Linked DNA regions of Homo sapiens: regions 1 and 3 are each linked to region 2. The links are contacts of gene promoters, found by promoter capture Hi-C in blood cells and fetal thymus (Javierre and others, 2016). All regions are on one chromosome and are shown on one strand. Each heading gives the region's core, a stretch centred on a gene start or on the middle of the fragment in contact. The rest is flanking DNA. Distances are from core to core; before and after follow the strand shown. Region 1 holds the start of ATP23 (ATP23 metallopeptidase and ATP synthase assembly factor homolog). Region 2 holds the start of BAZ2A (bromodomain adjacent to zinc finger domain 2A). Region 3 holds the start of OS9 (OS9 endoplasmic reticulum lectin).

What was found. The method cuts DNA at HindIII sites, captures the fragments that hold promoters and counts their contacts. A CHiCAGO score of 5 or more calls a contact.
Region 1: the fragment with the promoter of ATP23 here is called in contact with the fragment with the promoter of BAZ2A in region 2 in 1 of 17 cell types (neutrophils); the score reaches 6.9 in neutrophils.
Region 3: the fragment with the promoter of OS9 here is called in contact with the fragment with the promoter of BAZ2A in region 2 in 2 of 17 cell types (monocytes and non-activated CD4 T cells); the score reaches 7.0 in monocytes.

Annotation. Positions count from the first base shown.
Region 1 is chr12:57,939,891-57,942,891 of GRCh38, forward strand. ATP23 (ATP23 metallopeptidase and ATP synthase assembly factor homolog) reads left to right here and starts at 1,677. Exons shown (of 6, transcript NM_033276.4): 1 at 1,677-1,998. The coding sequence starts at 1,812. RefSeq lists enhancers at 1,546-2,355, 2,812-2,981. The HindIII fragment of the contact is 6,393 bases long and covers 1-3,001 here.
Region 2 is chr12:56,628,777-56,632,032 of GRCh38, forward strand. It overlaps BAZ2A (bromodomain adjacent to zinc finger domain 2A), which reads right to left and starts at 1,550. Exons shown (of 29, transcript NM_001300905.2): 1 at 1,349-1,550. RefSeq lists a silencer at 1,137-1,486 and enhancers at 1,707-1,756, 1,787-1,856. The HindIII fragment of the contact is 7,835 bases long and covers 307-3,256 here.
Region 3 is chr12:57,692,512-57,695,560 of GRCh38, forward strand. OS9 (OS9 endoplasmic reticulum lectin) reads left to right here and starts at 1,621. Exons shown (of 15, transcript NM_006812.4): 1 at 1,621-1,812; 2 at 2,239-2,415. The coding sequence starts at 1,651. RefSeq lists enhancers at 1,250-1,824, 1,812-1,861. The HindIII fragment of the contact is 11,057 bases long and covers 1-3,049 here.

The DNA of each region.
Region 1 (3,001 bases), core at 427-2,926, 1.3 Mb after region 2:
GGAGAGTGGGAGGGGAAGGGTGAGGGTTGAAAAATTAACTATTGGGTACAATGTTCACTGTTTGGGTGATGGGTACACTAGAAGCCCAGACCTCACCACTACACAATATATCTGTATAATAAACCTACACATAAACCACCTGAATCTATGTATTAAAAAAGAAAGCATGAAAAAAATCCAAATAGTATTTCAAATGTATATAGGCTATGGTCCATTTCTAGGCATATCTAGCCTGCCTTCAGTATTCCAAACTAATCACACTGAATTGTAATGGCTTAGTTTTCCATATGTGTGTTTTAGTTCAATAACTGGATTGAAAGCTAGTTGTGTGGTCCTAGATAAATTATTGAATTTTGCTGAGCCCACTTTATCTGCAAATTAGAGATAATACTTACTTTGCAGGGTTGTAGTGAGGATTGGAAATAATGTATCCAAGGTGAATTTAATTAAAAAGTAGTTACTTTTTTTTTGACTTCTGGCTTTAATAGTCTATGTACATAGGAGTTGTTTGTATTTTTATAATATTCCAGATGAATGACTATCCTAGCATCCCACTCAATTTAGATATTGAGCATCTATGACACATAAAGCACTGTTCATAACCCTAAAGGCCTGCTGAGCCTATATTTTTCAGATATGTTTCTTACATAAACCACATGCTGCTCTTCATCTTTAGCAATTTTCTTAGTCATGTGTTTCCTCAGTCTCTTACACCTTGCCTGGCCCATCATAGTAGGTGCTGAATAAATGTGTGAGCTGAGTGGAATAATTTAGTAGGAAAAGAGAAACACACAAATTGGATAAAACCTGGCAGGCTACGATGAAAATGATTAACAGGTACAAAGTGCTTTGTACATTGGGAGATCAGGAGACATTAATTTTGATTAAGGTATCTGGGAATGCCCTGTGGAGTAGGCAGATTTGACCTGGGCCCCAATCATAGGGGCTGAGGCAAGGAGCTTAAAGATGGAAATGACAGTATGAGTTAAGGCTGAGAGGTAGAAGTAAACAGGGTGCGCTTTGTTATCAGGGAGTTATTGGTGGGGGGTGGGGCAGAAGAGTAGGGTAAACGAATGGGTACAGGTGGGAAGAAAAAATGTAGTTGGTTCCTACATTTTGAGGATTTTGATGTGACTAGTCATTCTTTATAGTTTTAAAACGTTTCTGAAAAACACTGCTTTCAATATGGCCAGAGGCATCTTTGGGCAGAGTGGATCTGAGGGATGGCAGGGGTCGGGAAAGTGGCGGGCCAGAAATGACAACTGGCTTGCCCCGGAAGAAGGCAGGGAGTGGGAGGATGGCCGAGACCTTCGGCGGCACAAGAGCAGTTAGTGGCCAATATTCGCCCCGAGGTGAGGAAGGAGTGTCTGCGAGGAGGCGGGACACCCTTAGAGCTCAGCAGGCAGCAGGAAGCTGCAGAACAACGCTTATAAAGACATGTCACCCACACTGGGAGGGCAGCAGCGAAATCCGCGGCAGCCGGGTTGTTACAGCCTTTGAGGGAAGTCGCAAGACCCAGCTCCGCCCAACAGCATCGGGCCCCGCGCCCCGCCCCATGCCCTCGCCCCGCCCCTCATCCCTCGCCCCGCCCCTCGCCTCTCGCCCCGCCCCTCGCCTCTCGCCCCGCCTCCCGCGCTCCCCGTCAGGTTCAAAGCCCCCTCCCGCCTAACGTCTTCAGCCCAGCCAGGCTGCCCTTCTTCCCTGCGGAGGGAGGGCCTGGGCGGTCGCGTTGGCGGGAGGGAGGTTACCTTTCCCAGTCTCGCTCTGGCCGCCTGAGCCAGGAGGAAGCAGCGGCGAGGTCTGCGGGAGGCATGGCGGGAGCTCCGGACGAGCGCCGGCGGGGCCCCGCGGCAGGGGAGCAGCTGCAGCAGCAACACGTCTCTTGCCAGGTCTTCCCCGAGCGTCTGGCCCAGGGGAATCCCCAGCAAGGGTTCTTCTCCAGCTTCTTCACCAGCAACCAGAAGTGCCAGCTTAGGCTCCTGAAGACGCTGGAGACAAGTAGGAGCCATGACCTGGAGGCTGTGGTTCCACAGAATGGGTCTGAGACCGGGTGGGCGAGGAAGGGCCTGGGCAACACCTGGCCAGGGGCTTCAGGTTCAGCACAGAGTCTAGACAGACTGGGCATCATGGGGGCTGGGTTGGGAGCCTGAGGCTCAGTTTCCCCACTAGAGGTGGCGCTGAGACCCTTTTCGTCGCTGTTTTTGGCTTGTGGAATGAATTTGTCTGCCCTTTTTTGTCACTCACTGTTGTGACAGATCCTCCGATTTCTTACATAAGTTATGCAGCCACACTGTGACTTCAGGGTAAGGGTGAGGCCAAGTTTTAAAGTGCCAGCCAGGTTAATTAAGGCACACAAAGGCTGTAAAAATGTAAAAATGTAATTAAGGCATACCAAGGCTGTAAAAATATAAAAGCAGTTTTGCAAACCTACCGTTCCTTGGAAGTGGTTCATGCATGAATGGGCTTCAGAGCGTAGAAATCCCTGAAATGGTCTGTGAAATCGTGTGTATGTGTGTGTGTGTGCCCCTAAGTGCATTTTTTTTTTTTTTTTGAGACGGAGTCTCGCTCTGTCGCCCAGGCTGGGGTGCAGTGGCGCGATCTTTGCTCACTGCAAGCTCCGCCTACTGGGTTCACGCCGTTCTCCTGCCTCAGCCTCCCGAGTAGCTGGGACTACAGGCGCTCGCCACCACACCCTGCTAATTTTTTGTATTTTTAGTAGAGACGGGTTTTCACCGTGTTAGCCAGGATGGTCTTGATCTCCTGACCTCGTGATCTGCCTGCCTCGGCCTCCCAAAGTGCTGGGATTACAGGCGTGAGTCACTGCGCCCGGCCCAAAGTGTATTTTTTTTTGGTCGGGGGAGAGAGTTAATAGCTTCATCATATTCTCAAAGAGGCCAACGACCCCACAAAGGTTAAGAACTGCTGTGGGTTAAACAGGGACACAACTGCCCATTGACAAATTTCTCTCCCGTCCCAGAGACATTGCACTAGAGAAGATTTC
Region 2 (3,256 bases), core at 300-2,799:
AAAGTAGGACCCCAAGAAGCTACTCGTGCCACAAAAGCTCTCTAGTCTCCCTGACAGCTCTCTATGCTGAGGGAATTTGCATCACTTACATAGAGCGTACCCCGCTGGTAGATAACTGAGTTTGCTTCTCTATGACCTCTAGCTAAAGGGAAAACAAAACGAAACCAGACAGGAAGACAGAGATGTTCTGGAGAAGGGATTGGGATACGTGAGTCAACTGAAGTTGACTACTTCCAGTTGACAAGTTTACAAAAAAAAAAAAAGTCCAACGAAAGGTCTCTCGGGCCACATGGTTGGCAAGATCCAAGCTTGCCCAGAAGGCTTCAGAAAATGAAACCAAATCTGATTAAAATGGACATTTCAAAACAACAAGACACGCAGCAGCAAACGCACAGCTGCCATTTCCCGGCCACTTCCTGCGGGAGGCTGGGGGAGGGGCTGTTTGTGTACAGATAGAGGTGGAAAGCTATCCCCTCCGTCGTCCCCCAAAGCAGACAAATCTCTCACTCCAATTAACCCTACAAAGGACAACTGCTATTGACATTGCCTTCTCCTGAAAACTGGGAACACCGGGAAAGAAAGGGATGATGCGGTATCATCTTTCTGCCACGGAAGCGGGGATCCCCTCAGTGAGGAATCTCCTTGGAAAAAGGAATTCCTCTTTATTCTTCCCTTCTGCCCCTCAGCCCAGCTCAAATTGGAAAGCCTCAGCGGAAGCCCTATCAACCTCCATCCCCGGAGTGCGCGATTCTCCCGGGACGCGAGGGCCCCAAGCCAAGCGCAGCACCACCCTCAGCAAGGAAGGCCCTCTCCTGATCTTCACGCTCAAGAGAATGGGTGCGCTCCCCGAGGGAGACACCCTCAGACCCCTGGAAACCCCTTCCGCCCTCCACTCACCACAGTCAAAACGCCCAGCTCCCCGCAAACGGAGCGTTTTAACCCGCCAAGGGAACCCCCTCACCCACCCCTCGCGCTCAGGCAATCCCCACCCCCACCCGAGGAGGTGGAGCCCCTCCCGGGGATTCCACCCCAAGTCCCCCACAGGAGTCATCTCCACCAGCCAGGCGGCTTCTCCGCCTCCTCACTGTCGCCGGGAGCCCCTACAGCTCCTCCTGCCCCCGCGGCCCCGTCCGGGGTCCTCAGCAGCCCCACCAGCCCTGTTCTCCTCCCAGACCCCAGAGCAAGGAGACCCTCGCCTCGGGTTGGATCCTCGCAGGAAATAAGCTCCCGTCGGCTTCCCGCCCCGGCAAGGCTCAAGCCGGCTCTGGAGCTTCTGTTCCCCGAGGGAAGCCTCGGATGAAAGCGGGGCTCCCTCCCCCTCAGGCCCCTGGCCACAGACCCCACAAACCTGAGGCAGCGGCGTCCAGCCGGGCTCGGGGCTCGTCTCTCCCCGGGGTACAAGCGGTTCACATGGCCGCGCTCCGGGCGCCAGAACGGGTGGAGACGCCCGCTGGGGAGGGGGTCTGGGGTCCGGGGTTCGGGAAGGGGGAGGGGGACGCGGCTCAACCGCGGGGCCCGAGAGGAGCCAACATGGCCGGCGGGGGAGGAGTGAGTCGGAGCCGGAGGGGGCGGAGAAGCCTCGGCCGGGAGAGAGTCTCCCCACGCGGCCTCCGCCACAGGGTCCTAAAGCCCGCCAGCCCATCTTTCCGACCCGGACCTGGGTCCTAGCGCCGCTGTGCCTCCTGCAACTCTGGCCACCTTGCCCACCTGGCAGCTCCCTCTGCACCCGCATCTCATGGAGGCAGTGGTCCTGCTTCACACAGGGCAAACTGAAAGGCATGCCACAGTCCCAAGGTTAACTTAAAAGACTAGACCAAACGTCTAGGCCCAAAGGCAGGTGCCACTTCTCTAACAGGCTGGTAGGGGTAAGAGTCAGGGGAATTTCGGGGGCAGTTATTTCCCAGGTAGGGTAATGGAAACGTGGAAATAGAAAGGTTAGTCACTCAGGTCGCGATTCAGTAAAGGGATGGGGAGAGGCAAGAGTCAGCCACCCACTCACCTCTGTCCCTTCAGTGCAGCCTGGTCCTGCCTGGATCACCACTTTCCTGGCGACATCTGCAGGGCCCTGGTCACCGGAAAGGAAAGATTCCTGTGCGTGGGGGAAAGAAGGTTCGGCTCTGGAACCAGACAGCAAAGACCTGAGTGTAGCCTAAATGCAGTCAGAGAAGTAAAGGATAAGCTGAAAACTAATCAGCAAAAAGATGCCACAAATGTCCACCCATTCTATGGTTCTGGGAATTTTTTTCTGACAGGGCTACATAACTGTGTGAAAACTCAGAAAAGTAAAATCTAGCAGAGGACTAGAGTTTGGCTGTCACCTAAAATGTCCACTGCAGGGCACCAGGATGAAGAACAGTGTCATATGATGTTAGAGCTTAGAGAATTTCTAGTTCAGGCCGGACGCGGTGGCTCACGGCTGTAATCCCAGCACTTTGGGAGGCCGAGGCAGGTGGATCATGATGTCAGGAGTTCAAGACCAGCCTGACCAACATGATGAAACCCGGTCTCTACTAAAAATACAAAAATTAGCTGGGTGTGGTGGCGTGCCCCTGTAATCTCAGCTACTCAGGAGGCCGAGGCAAGAGAATCGCTTGAACCTGGGAGGTGGAGGTTGCAGTGAACTGAGATCGCGCCATTGCACTCCAGCCTGGGTGACAGAGGGAGACTCTATCTCAAAAAAAAAAAAAAAAAAAAATTCTAGTTCAACCTTCTCTCCTTCATCAAATGAAGAAATTAAGACCCAAAGAGGTTCAATGACTTCTTCAATGTCAAACAGTGGATAAAATATGACAAGAAAGGAAACCAGGTTTCCTTTCCTTGCAACTCAACACTTTGCAGCCTTGAAGATAATTCCCATTTAATTCAATGCAATGCAGTTCTAGAAACAGTTGCCTAAACTGTGCAAAGCTCAGGCTGCTGAATATTCTGGAAAAGCAACAGAGTGGGGATGATGAAACTCTGGCAAGTTGGGGTGTCAACAAATACGTTTTCCTCTGGGGGTCTGAGGAGGAAAGAGATCTGAAAAATGGGCAGAGTTGGGGGGTGAGATCCATCAGTCTACATTGGATTTCCTTACTCCACAGAGGGGTGGGCTCTTCCTGAATTTTGGGGAAAGACTCCACCCCTCCACCCCCCCACTACAAATGGCTCAGAGAGGATAAGAAGGAAGCTAGCTTTAGCAAAGGCTCACAGAGTGTGTGGGCCACAGACACAGAAGGCTAAGGGGGTTTCTCTTCCTCTCTCGAGATAAGTAGAT
Region 3 (3,049 bases), core at 371-2,870, 1.1 Mb after region 2:
TTACTCTCAAGTAGTTTCCTGTTGTTATTTTATGAATGCTCTATAATATCTCTTTGAGAAGTCTGATGATGGATTATTTTTAAATGCTTTGTTGTTTCAGACGGAGTCTAGCTCTGTGGCCCAGGCTGGAATGCAGTGCCGCAATCTCAGCTCACTGCAACTTCCGCCTCCCAGGTTCAATCAATTCTTCTGCCTCAGCCTCCTGAGTAGCTGGAACTATAGGCGCGTGCCACCATGCCCAGCTAATTTTCGTATTTTTAGTAGATACGGGGTTTCACCACGTTAGCCAGGCTGGTCTTGAGCTCCTGACCTCAAGTGATCCGCCCGTCTCGGACTCCCACAGTTTTGGGATTACAGGCGTAAGCCACCGTGCCCGGCCTATTTTTAAATTTTTTATTTTTAGTGTTTTTTCCCCTCCCTTGCAATTTATGTTTCCTCTCATTTGCTTTTCCCTTCTTGTTTGTTTCTTACTTGTATATTAAAGTCCTTCCTTAAATGTCTAATGATCTCTGGCTATTTATTTTGAAGAGTAAGAACACTAAAAAGCTGATTGGAAAGTGGAATGAGGGCTGGGGCACGTAGGCCAAAGTGTTACATGTGGAATTCATTCTAGTTATCTATATCATTAAGAGAACTCTGATAAGGGTATCTTTGGGATTTTTCGTTTTGGCTGGTGAGATTCCCCAGAGAGGGTTTTCCAAAGGTATAATCAGCCTCTTGTTTACCTTTGTTTCGTAATAAATATTCTCAAGTTTGCTAAACCAGTTAACATTCTTCTGTTTGATTTCCAGCTTCCAAAATGTTGCTGTTGTTGTCTCCTTTCCCTTTCTTACGGCCTGGAGAGTAATACATAATTTCACCTTAACTGGAAGCCCATGTATGCATGTATGTATGTATGTATGTATGTATGTATGTATGTATGTATGTACGTACTTATTTGAGACGGGGTTTCGCTGTGTTGCGCAGGCTGCACTTGAACTCCTGGGCTCAGGAGATCCTCCTGCCTCAGCCTCCGGAGTAGCTGATACCACAGGTGCGTGCCACCACGTCTGGCTGCCCGCATTATTTCTCTAGGATTTTTACTGGAGGTCATTTTACTGGAGGTCAACTGCAGGATCGTATAGGAAGGTTTTGACACAAATTTTCTGATTGCCTCAAAGCAATATGTATATATGAAAAGAGGTAAGCGTCCGTATAATAATTGTTTGTTTTGCAACAAGCATTTAATAACTTTCACCGGCACTGCGCACGCTACCTATCTGCCTCAATACTCCGCCCGGCGGTGGGCAGGATATAATGCAAGAGACGTCTGAAAAAGCAATGAGATGCGCATGACAGCTGGGCGAAGACAGAGGGCAAACTTAAAAGGACCAAGCGCATAGACCACGCCTCTGAAATTGGGGAACGAGGAGGGGTTTGATCTTGTCGATGATTGGCTGGTCTCTGACCAATCACGGACAGCGATTGATATTTCTAATCGTCGTGATCCACCTCCCCAGGACCTTGGAGCCACGTTTACAAATAGGAATAGGGTACGTGGGAGGGATAGAACGTACAGCCAATAAAATCATGTGGCGCCGATGGGCGTGTTGAGGCCGCTGCCTGGCTTAGGGCGGAAACAGATTCTCTGCATAAGAAGGGGAACGAAAGATGGCGGCGGAAACGCTGCTGTCCAGTTTGTTAGGACTGCTGCTTCTGGGACTCCTGTTACCCGCAAGTCTGACCGGCGGTGTCGGGAGCCTGAACCTGGAGGAGCTGAGTGAGATGCGTTATGGGATCGAGATCCTGCCGTTGCCTGTCATGGGAGGGCAGGTGAGAGGCGTATAAGGGGCGAGGGTCTGGGCAGAAGAGGAAGCGGGTAAGAGATAGAGGAAGAAGGGCAGCTCCGGAGTCTGGGGCTGGAGCCTACGGGGAATCGGGAAGAGTAGGTATTGCTTTTACGGTGACCCCTGGGGGTCGCAGACTGAGACCAATTCTCTGGGGGCCAGGAATTGGGAGAGGTGGGGCTTCCCGCTGTCAACCTTCAGGTCTCAGTTTATGATCGAAACACCCGGACTCCGCCCCCGTGGAGAAATGGGAGCGCCCTCTCCTCTCACCCACTAAATACAGCTGGAGGGCTTATGGCTTATTCTGTCTTCGACTGATCTCTTCCCCAGGGTTTGAAGAGGGATTTCGTTGTTCTCCCTGATCCCAGCCTTTCTTTGCTTCCTTGCCCCCCGACCCTCCCTTCTTTCCCAGAGCCAATCTTCGGACGTGGTGATTGTCTCCTCTAAGTACAAACAGCGCTATGAGTGTCGCCTGCCAGCTGGAGCTATTCACTTCCAGCGTGAAAGGGAGGAGGAAACACCTGCTTACCAAGGGCCTGGGATCCCTGAGTTGTTGAGCCCAATGAGAGATGCTCCCTGCTTGCTGAAGGTGAAAGGGACTGGGTTAGATAGAATGAGGGCTTGGAAACTAGCAGTTCATCCAAGAACTGGAGTCCACTGAATGAGGCAGGATCTAGGGGACCTGTAGTGGTTAAGAAGACCACTGGAGGAGTAGACAGATTACACGGACAGGAAAGAAGCAAAGAATCCTGCAACCACTGATGACACTTTGCTGAACGTAGGAGCAGGTTAGGATAGAAGATCTCAGAAAAGGGCTAAAGCAAGATTGAGGGTCTGCGTGGGGTAGGAGGAGTACTTCCTTAAGCCTACTTGCTAAAGTCACCCCCTGCCCTATCACTCTGCTCCAGTATCCTGTTTTATTTTCATCGTAGCACTTTTCATGATCTGAAATCATATTTACTGAATCAGTTTGTTTATTTTCGGTCTGATTCCCCGCATTAGAGTGTAAACTCCATGAGGTCAAAGAATTAATCTTGTTCACAGTTGTATTCCCAGTGGCCAGAACAGTGCCAGGAATGTTCAAGAAGTTCAATTAATATTTAATTTTGGGTTCTTCTATGTTTCCCTAATATAATTGCTTCAGGGATACCATAATTTCTTATCTTTATGGAGGGCAAATAAGGATTTAAAAAATCTTTTAAAAGGGAGGAATGGAAAGACCA